Linked DNA regions of Homo sapiens: region 2 is linked to region 1. The links are contacts of gene promoters, found by promoter capture Hi-C in blood cells and fetal thymus (Javierre and others, 2016). All regions are on one chromosome and are shown on one strand. The core of a region is centred on a gene start or on the middle of the fragment in contact, and the rest is flanking DNA. Distances in the headings are between cores, read along the strand shown. Region 1 holds the start of WBP11 (WW domain binding protein 11). Region 2 has its middle 95 kb from the start of ATF7IP.

The links. The method cuts DNA at HindIII sites, captures the fragments that hold promoters and counts their contacts. A CHiCAGO score of 5 or more calls a contact.
Region 2: a fragment that was not itself captured here is called in contact with the fragment with the promoter of WBP11 in region 1 in 2 of 17 cell types (neutrophils and monocytes); the score reaches 7.0 in neutrophils.

The regions. Positions count from the first base shown.
Region 1 is chr12:14,801,134-14,806,173 of GRCh38, reverse strand. It overlaps WBP11 (WW domain binding protein 11), which reads left to right and starts at 2,696. Exons shown (of 12, transcript NM_016312.3): 1 at 2,696-2,822; 2 at 4,746-4,854. The coding sequence starts at 4,791. C12orf60 (chromosome 12 open reading frame 60) reads right to left here and starts at 2,504. Exons shown (of 2, transcript NM_175874.4): 1 at 2,423-2,504. SMCO3 (single-pass membrane protein with coiled-coil domains 3) reads left to right here. Exons shown (of 2, transcript NM_001013698.2): 2 at 1-1,524. The coding sequence ends at 171. RefSeq lists an enhancer at 2,161-2,400. The HindIII fragment of the contact is 2,157 bases long and covers 1,014-3,170 here.
Region 2 is chr12:14,267,857-14,272,896 of GRCh38, reverse strand. No RefSeq gene overlaps it. Among named protein-coding and RNA genes, the nearest start is that of ATF7IP, 95 kb to the left of the region's middle. The HindIII fragment of the contact is 5,994 bases long and covers 1-5,040 here.

The sequences.
Region 1 (5,040 bases), core at 1,447-3,946:
CTTGGCATAGATATGATTGTCCGTGCCATCCTGGGAGCAGTGGAAAAAACACAGCTTCAAGCAGCCATCAAAAGTTATGAGAAGCATCTGGTGGAGTTCAAATCAGCCTCAGAAAAATATAATCATGCCATTACTGAGGTCATCAATACAGTGAAACACCAAATGAAATGAACAGCCGTTTTATTTGCCACTGAAGTGTTTTTCTGCTTCCTTTTCAGTAACAGTGTTTGCTTCTTTGATTAGGTTCATTTTCTATAGGCTTCCAATATGGACTTAAATAAGATAAACAATTTGGAGAGGGAAACTGGAGATGCCAAGACTAGATGACTAGATGAGTTTTGAGTCAACAATGCCTGGATCAGCTGATGCTAGACCCTGTGAGGTAAAAAAATTTTCTCCCTGGATGTTTTCACACCCTGCTCTACCAGATCAACATTGGGGTAAATGCTATCGTAGAGTAGCAAGTATAGGGGTTACTTTTCTCTTTTCTAATTTCAGTAAAATTCTTAAATTTCACATTGAATGCAGAGACTTTCATTTCTACCACCAGCTTCAAACATCATTTAGTTATAAGGGGACATACTCAGTAACTTCTGCCTAGACACAAACTCTAGGCCTTCGAATGAGACAGAAATACTACCATATTTTTGACCATCAGAGTAAATCTGGTTTTCTGTAAACTAGAAGAGACTGAAAAATGGTTTGTAACAATGTGCTTCAATTAGGACAGGAAGCTGATCTGTAAACGTCTACTGATTACACAATGTAAACCGGATGGATTTGAAAATGGTAAAAATCAAAACTAAAAACATCAAGGTCCTGTTTCAGTCACTGCAATCAACCCTGACCAACTGTGATAATTAAATATCGCTCAAGTGAATGTTCAAACACTGAAACATTTAGAAGACAAGAAAGCAAAACACAGCTACACATATTGCATTTAGGATGCAGAATAGAAGGTCACTACTCAAAGCATTTGTCATTTAAAAGAAAGTCATAATTTATTATAAGCTTTCAGAAAAAAGAATATAATTTCATTTTCAACACTAGCAAAAAGGAGGCAGCTGCCTTTGCTACATGACGCATTAGGTGGGCCATTTCACTAATTACCTGATTTTAGAAAACGCCAAAGGCTATGGAAGCCTATTAATGGTTCCGCTGAATCTCTGCAGATGTGTTTGTTTTCTAAATCCTTTGCCAACCAATAATTCCCATGAGGACTCTTTTAGTCTATACTGACAAAATTATTAATATGCTGTTGATGCCAGACTGTGTTTGTTATAGTTGATTCTCCCATCCAAGTACAAGAAATGTATTGAAATAAAAACTGCTCAGCATATCTTAAAAATAGTAGCTACATATAAAATTTTAGCTACATGAAAGACTTTAATATTTCCAACATACACTGTTTTCTCTTTCTCTTCTTGCATTGTTTTTCAAAACGAGTTGCAAAACTATGATCACTAATGTGTTAGGAAAGAAAAAAAACTAGTTGCAAAACATTACAACTTAGCTCACCTTCGCAGTTCAAGATTATTTTCTTTTTTATGTACTACCTGGTTTATCAGCTTTAACCTACAATATCTCGTCATTGCTTTCTGACACTCAAATTCAGTCTAAAATCAAATCAAGAATTTCCTAACACAAAGGTAAGTTTAGGTATAGGACCGATCTTATACCTTCAAGGGCAGTTTAAAGATTCTGCTAAAAATTAGTATGTATCTCCATCAATATTTTGAAATATTTATAACTGGTGGTAAGAATAGCCTTCCTACATGGGATAGTCAGGTTAAGATTAGAAATAACCAAGCGTATCCTCTAAGATAGTTTTTTAAATGTTTAAACTTACCTTTAAGGGAAATAAGTGGGGGCTGACTCACGGAAAGAGGGGATAGAAGGTAGGGAAAGGGCGAAGGCTAGAGTTAAGTGAAGAATCCCGTACGTAGAGTGACATCATAGAGGACTTTTGGCTGGTGAAAAGACCAGTCGGGAATATAGCCAATATATATCAACCTTGCCACTCATATAACTTAAAACCGACTGCATATGTATCCCCGTATTTCTTCTTCAAAACACTACTAACAAATAATAAATCACCGCCCATATAAGCAATCTGCGACTCTAATACGGGTGCTAATTTATTTGTTCAGGTGGTCTACAAACGTTCTGTTCTGCCTGTCTATTAAATTTCCACACGTACTAGGCGCTCACATGGGATAACCTGATGCTTACAAAGCGGATTAAACTCAGTGGCAAATGTTATCTGGGTATTCGTTTACACACGGAGACACCCCTAAAGGATCGCACCTGCTTGGGTCATAAGAAACAGAAAAATGCAAAAACTAAGGTAATTCCAAAAGACAGAAAACGCAGAACGCTTCTTTATCTGCAGAATGTACCGTTCTCGGACGGCTCAACGTACCAGGCTCCCAGCAACTAAGTCAAGATGCCTCCAACTCGAGAGACAGGACCGTCAGCCACTCAGTTAGCAGCTATCTTCTTCTAATTCCTATTGTACTAGATGAGCGCAATGAGGCGGGCTCTTAGCCGACAACCAACCAATTGAGTATTGTATGGAACCGGAAGAGACTCTGGTCCTGGAATTCTTGGGTATTCTCTATGGTTCCAGGGTCAAGCGGCGCTAAGAGAAGGCGGGACAGAGGAATGGGAAATGACGTGAGGAGTGCGGAGGGGCGCGAGGTTTCAAGATGGCGGTAGCTGAGGGGTTGACCGAGAGACCCAGTTGAAGGCCTTTACGAAGTGAAAGAGGCCGGGAGTCGCCCCCTACCCGCTTCTCGTAGTCCTGGGAGCACAGCAGAAGTGTGAGTGTATTGAATTGATTTACTACTCTTCCTCACCTCTTTCGTCCCTTCCACGTCCCGCGCAGCGGCTTGGGGGACACCCAGCCCCTTTGCCCCGCTCCTCCTCTCCCTGGTTGAGGTCTCCCTGTTGCGGACTGGGCTATTCCTGGGCCTGGGGTGGCGCGGCGACCAGTGGTTGCGCGGTTGGCATCGCCCGGGTCGGTTGGGGCCGCTTCTTACGCACGTTGATTAGTAGCCTTAGGTTTGACGTCTTGTACCTCGAGTCATGGTCGGTCAGCCGTCGCTATGGTTTCGTCAGTTGCTGGTGTTGCCTCCTTTGGTGAACCTGGACCCTATCCCATTGAAGCTTCTTTGGCTGTTTAGAGTTATCCAACGCTTATTTGGCTTGATTTTCCAGTCGCCTCCGCTTGTAGACAAAAAACTAATCTGCAGACTTAAGCTCCAGTGTCTTCCGTAAAATTCTCTGTAATTCGTATCCGTTGTGTTTCATTTGTGGGGGAGGAGATTCAGAACATGAGCCTGAGGAAACTTGAGAAAGGAAAGCACAAAAAACGCAGGCAATCAAAGATGGGAGAGCTTGTATATGTACTGATTTTGCTTGTTTTCCTCCTTCCCTACCTCCTACTCCCTGCTGCTCTCCCACCCCCCTAACCCCCCCATCCCCAGTTTTTCTTAGAAGGAAACCACTTGACAGGGTGTATGGTAGCTAGGCCAGGAATATGGATCCATTATAAAGATTTTAGTTAAGTAGTGAGTCAAACATCACAGGATATTTTATTTGTAATCTCATTGTATCATCAGAGCTTTGTTATAAAGTAATTGATGTCCCCATTTTTTAGATGAGGAAGCTAAAAATCAGAGCCTTTGATACCGCTGTCTTGAAGTAATTGCCACCAGAACAGCTGTGAAACATCTGGCTTTCTGAAACATCTGGCTTTCGGGGCAGTTGGACACTTGGTGAAAGAGACATTAACTGTAATAAACTGGGCTGACAAAATCTTCCCTTTCTTACCTTTAAAAAGTGTCTACTTGCAAAAGGAAGCAAATTTGTCCGCCTTTATTACTGGAAAGACTGCGCTTCAAAAAATTAAGCCCCATTATTTTGGAATAAGAGGAAGAAGTCATGTAATAGGGTACTGTGTTAATAAAAGTTTTAGCTTACAAAATATTTTTTCCTCAAACAAAAATAAGTATTCCCTTTAATTACCTTAAGAAATATATATTGGGAGTCAGGTCTTAGTAAGAAAAATATGTGTCTTAATATTTAAGTTTTGGGGAGCTCTCAGTATAGCACTAATTTCAAATATTTGCATTTTTAGTTGTGTTTTGAACTCTTGAGAGTCAAGCATTATATCTGAACTAGAACTGAATCTGAATTAAATATGCTTAAATTAATGAGTTTTTAGTGTCTTAGAAGTATTGAGAATGTACAGCATACATGCCAAGAAAAACCATGGAGAGAGGCAAAGGTGAGGTATGTGTTTTGAGCCTAGATCCATTACCCCCATTCCCTTCTTATTCTTCTTTTACAATTACATGTTAATAAAGGGAGGTTATAGAAGAAGGACTAATGAATTCTGATGTTCATGGTTTGTGCCATATCGTTAAAGCATTTTCTAGTTGTTTTTATCAGTTGACAAAGTCAGTGCTGTGATCCATAAGAAAAAAGCTAAACTGATGACTTGAGGATATTCAAAGTGGTCTTCACACTCATCACATTTCTGAAGAATGATAGAGATCTAAATTTTCATGGTCAAGAAAGGTGATGCCATCTTTCTTGGACATTAAAGTCAAAACTAAGGAAAGAACAGTCTCACAGAATTTCTAATTAAAGGAATTTTTTTTCAGAGATTGGTAGGGACTAGAAAAAGGAAGAAATACATTTAGGAGATATAAGCTATTTCTTTGTCTTCACCTTCACAGGTTTTTCTTTTTTTAATGAACAAGTAAACCATACAAATTGTCAACATGGGACGGAGATCTACATCATCCACCAAGAGTGGAAAATTTATGAACCCCACAGACCAAGCCCGTAAGTGTCCATTAGTGTGGAATGATGAAGTAGGAGAGTGTTAAAAATTGCAAATATTAGGGAATTTCTTTCTCTGTGGCTTAATTACAAGACCAGCAGTGATAGGAGGAATAAATTATATATTCAGGGTTTGTATGGGCACATTAAGACTTTAAATATGCAAAGAAATTAGTACCCGTATTTTAT
Region 2 (5,040 bases), core at 874-3,373, 530 kb after region 1:
TGCGGTGGCTCACGCCTGTAATCCCAGCACTTTGGGAGGCTGAGGTGGGTGGATCACCTGAGGTCAGGAGTTTGAGACCAGCCTGGCCAACATGGTGAAACCCCGTCTCTACTAAAAATACAAAATTAGCCAGGAGTGATGGTGCATGCCTGTAATCCCAGCTACTCTGGAGGCTGAGGCAAGAGTATCGCTTAGAACCTGGGAGGCAGAGGTTGCCCTGAGCCGAGATTCGCCAGTAGCACTGGGCAACAAAGGGAGACTCTGTCTCAAAAAAAAAAAAAAAAAAGAAAGAAAAAAAGAAAAGAAAAGAAAATGAAGTCAGACCTAGGGAACATTTTCGGGATTTACTAAACATCTACCCACAGGGAAGGAAGAAAGAATGTCAGCGATATGGACAGTTGCTATCATACATTTTTGGATTCTCTTAGATCTCAGTACTTTATAGGGAATCAGAGTCCTCATTTTTTTGGCCAGTGTGGAAGATCCTGTCAGTACCATGCTCATATCCCTGCAATACTTACTGTTTCTATATGTGCAGACGGTATCCTACTGCTAGTACATGATGCTGCCCGAGGGCTTTTCCTCAGTTCAGGTGTAGAGAAAGTCCTCAGCGCTGTAGAGTTAACACTCCTGGAAGCAACTATAAACTAATGACTGATAGTAATTAGAGGACAAACTCCAGCTTCCTCTTCCCCTCAGGTGGGACAGCTCCCACAGGTTCCCAGCATGACTGACCCTCGGTTGCCCCCATTGGTAACGTAATGGTCTAGGCTTCCCTCACTTCCCTGTCTTACTGCCCCTTTCCCCTGTCAGTGCTTCCTATGATCACCACTCAAACTACTTACATTTAAACCTTTTGCTTAGGGTTGGCTCCTAAAAGAATCTGGCAGAAGACAGCCTAATTATGGGGAAAGCACTCCTGCCCAAAATAATCGGCTAAATTTCTCCATTTTTTCAAGTTTCAAATTCTATCCATTAGGGGTGCATATGGGGGGCCAGGCATGGTGGCTCAAACCTATAATCCCAGTACTTTGGGAGGTTGAGGCAGGTGGATTTCTTGAGCCCAGGAGTTCGAGACCAGTCTAGGTGACATAGTGAGACCTCATCTCTGCAAAAAATACAAAAACTTGCCAGGTGTGGTGGTGCATTCCTGTAGTACCAGCTACTAAGCGGCTGAGGTGGGAAGATCGCTTGAGCCTAGGAGGTCAAGGCTGCAGTGAGCTGTGTTCATGCCACCGCACTCTGGCCTAGGTGACAAAGTGAGACCCTGTTTAAAAAAAAAAAGGGATGCATACGTGGTGTCAGGTGTCAATTTGGGAAATTCAGATACTCCTTGCAGGGTTATGAAGCAACCATCATTTTTTCCACCATATCTTAGGGAAAATGGTTGGTGACATTGCTTTCTTCTTATTACTATTTAATCTCACCCAAAATAATTGGCTAAAATTATTGGCTAAAATAATTGTCTGCTCAAAAGAATCATTAGCCATCATAAAGTAAGTAAATTCTCACTGCCTCATTCTGGGGCAGGCTCATGTCTGAAGGAGTGTGATCTCAAGTGTACATCTGCAATTTGGAATCGAAAGACTGCAATTTGAAGTTGAAATACAAATGGGCAGTGGCTGAACCATAGATAACAACAGAACTCTGACCCATGAAGGGGATCAGAACATGTTGCCCCCAAATACGCTGCTTTAGCATATTGATTATTTTGAACTGAAGGCAATTGAAAAACAGCAAATGGCCTCTTGACCTTCACTTTTCTTTTTTTTTCTTTTTCTTTTTTTTTTTTTTCGAGATGGAGTCTCACTCTGTCTCCCAGGGTGGAGTACAGTGGTGCCATCTCTGCAAGCTCCGCCTCCCAGGTTCACGCCATTCTCCTGCCTCAGCCTCCTGAGTAGCTGGGACTACAGGCACCGGCCACCATGCCTGGCTAATTTTTTGTATTTTTAGTAGAGACACAGTTTCACTGTGTTAGCCAGGATGGCCTCGATCTCCTGACCTCGTGATCTGCCTGCCTTGGCCTCCCAAACTGCTGGGATTACAGGTGTGAGCCACCACACCTGGCCTGACATACATTTCCCATGAGAAAGGTGCTCTCCCATAACCAGAAAGAAAACATTCTTATCAATGGAAATGGAGAATTGACACTGATTGTTTGTCTGCACAAACAAACCTTATTAATATAGCCCTTATCTTCCATTAGTTTTCCTCATATACTTCCTAGGTACTTTCCAAAAACTTACCACCTGTAGAAGCCCAAACCCCTGTCCTTTATCTACCTATGTCTTCACAATTTATTGCCTTTTGTTAAAATGGTATATAAACCTCTCTATCCACATGTTTTGAGGTTTTCACATCTTCTCTGTGAAGCCCTCCATGCCATATAAAAACATTAACACCAAATGAAATTGTATATGTTTTTCCTGTTGTAATATTTGTCAGTTTAATTTGCAGGCCCCAGGTACCTAATAACATAAGAGGGTAAAGTTCTTCCTTCCTTCATTGACAACATGCAGCAACCTATCCAGGAAACTAATCACTTATTTTCAATAGCCAACCAGTGAGACAGTCTGCTGTAAGTCAGATTTGTTGGGAGTCACAGATCTTTAGTGACAGTCTAAGAGGCCAAACAATAACAGTTGTTTCCTGTGACAACAAGCCAATATGGCCAGGACTTGATTAATAACTGACCGCTTTTCTAATTTTTGTCCCTGCTTCCAAATTAGGACCAATCAGAGGAAACCGGATGGGTGCAGTGGCTCATGCCTGTAATCCCAGCACTTTGGGAGGCTGAGGCAGGTGGATCACCTGAGGTCAGGAGTTTGAGACCAGCCTGGCCAATATGGTGAAACCCAGTCTCTACTAAAAAAAAATACAAAAATTAGCTGGGCATGGTGGCGCACGCCTGTAGTCCCAGCTACTCAGGAGGCTGAAGCAGGAGAATCGCCTGAACCCAGGAAGCAGAGGTTGCAGTGAGCCAAGATTGCGCCACTGTACTCCAGCCTGAGGACAGAGTGAGACTCTGTCTCAAAAAAAAAAAAAAAAAAAAAAAAATCAGAGAAAGCCAAATGTGTACCCCTAACCAATCACATAGGAATTCCTGTTTCTAGTTTGCCTGCTTACAGCTTCCTCATGCCAACAGCCTCTAACTGGGGCATAGTTGAAGCCTTTCCTTTTTCCTACAATAAAACTTTCCTACTCCTCTGCCTGCCTTGGAGTGTCTGCCAAAATACAAGTGACAGTGGTTGACTCCCTAGCTATAGCAATCTCTGAATAAATAGAATTTGCTTGTTCTCATTTGGTTTGTCTTAGTTTTTTTCCACATTCTGTCCACCCTTGTAACTTTCTATTTGGGGGACTTGTATTTGATATTATGCCTTATTCTCTCCATCCACTTTGTCCTAAAGTGGATGACATACTATTTTAGAGTTCCAATTGTAAAAATGCCTTTTATCCCTGGATAAGATTGCATTTTGATCCTTTTAATCTCAATGAGCCAGAAGTTTTAGGGCACCAAGAGAAAAAGTCTGGAGGGTTTCATATGTCCTTTTCCCCACTATCAAATGCAATCACAAAACAGTATTTCAATATTATCAGTACTGCTTTTGTTCCTATCCCTTATCTGAAGTCGAGAATCTTCAATTGTTTAAAGTTTCCTAGTTAAAGTTTCCTAGTACCTTCATATAGCACTGCTTGCTAGGTGTTTGAGGACAGGAGACTCTTGACTGCCTACAGGTTTACCATTGAGTCTCTACAGAGACTCTTCTTGGGAAGGCGAGTGAGTGTCTTGGCCTTTTTAGGGTCCATGTGACAGAGTGTAACTTTCTTACGACTTATCAGACTGGTTATTTGTTTGTTCTTGCGGACCTTGAATATCTGAGATAGGTCTCAGTCAATTTAGCAAGTTTATTTTGCCAAAGTTAAGGATGTGCACCTGTGACACAGCCTCAGGAAGTCCTGATGACATGTGCCCAAGGTGGGAAGAATACAGCTTGTTTTTCTTTTTCTTTTTTTCTTTTTTGAGACAGAGTTTCACTCTTTCGCCCAGGCTGGAGTGCAGTGGCTGATCTAGGCTCACTGCAATCTCCACCTTCTGGTTTCAAGCGATTCTCCTGCCTCAGCCTCCCAAGTAACTGGGATTGCAGACGCCTGCCACCACACCTGGCTAATTTTGTATTTTTAGCAGAGATGGGGTTTCACCATGATGGCCAGACTGGTCTCGAACCCCTGACCTTGTGATCCGTCCGCCTAGGCCTCCCAAAGTGCTGGGATACAGGCGTGAGCCACCGCTCCCAGCCCACAGCTTGGTTTATACATTTTGGGGAGACATGAAACATCAATCAACATATGTAGGATGAACATTGGTTCAGTCTGGAAAGGTGGGATGACTTGAAGCAAAGGCAGGACAACTCAAAAAAAAAAAAAAGGTGGGACCACTCAAAAAAAGCAAAAGCAGAGAGGAGGCTTTCAGGTCATAGGTAGAGAAGAGACAAATGGTTGCATTCTTTTGAGTTTCTAATTAGCCTTTCCAAAGTAGTCAATGAGATATGCATTTATCTCAGTGAGCAGAGGGATGACTTTGAATACAATGGGAGGCAACTTTGCCCTCAACAGTTCCCAGCTTGACTTTTCCCCTTAGCTTAATGATTTTTGAGGCCCCAAGATTTATTTTCCTTTCACATTTTCAACCTTCATTCTCACACTTCTGTGCTCTGCTGTGTGTTAGATTCTGTAATCTACATTTACAAACTTTTGGTCAGATTCTGCCAATGGAAAGAGATTAAAAGGCAAGAGGGAGGGAATTGTGACTCTCTTTTTCTAGTTTTGAGCAGTTGAAAAAGCAGCTGTTTCCAGCAGTTCCAGCACTACACACCAGTGATAAAAGAATGGAGGCGGCAATAGCGTTGATGGCAGGGGCAACATTAGTAGTGAAGTCTGGGGCAGACGAAGCCACGGGGACTCCGACAGCAGCCTGCGCTTGCAGGCTCCTGGGCTCCAGTTCAGGTAGCTGGGCTTCAATAACAGAAGCCTTAGCTG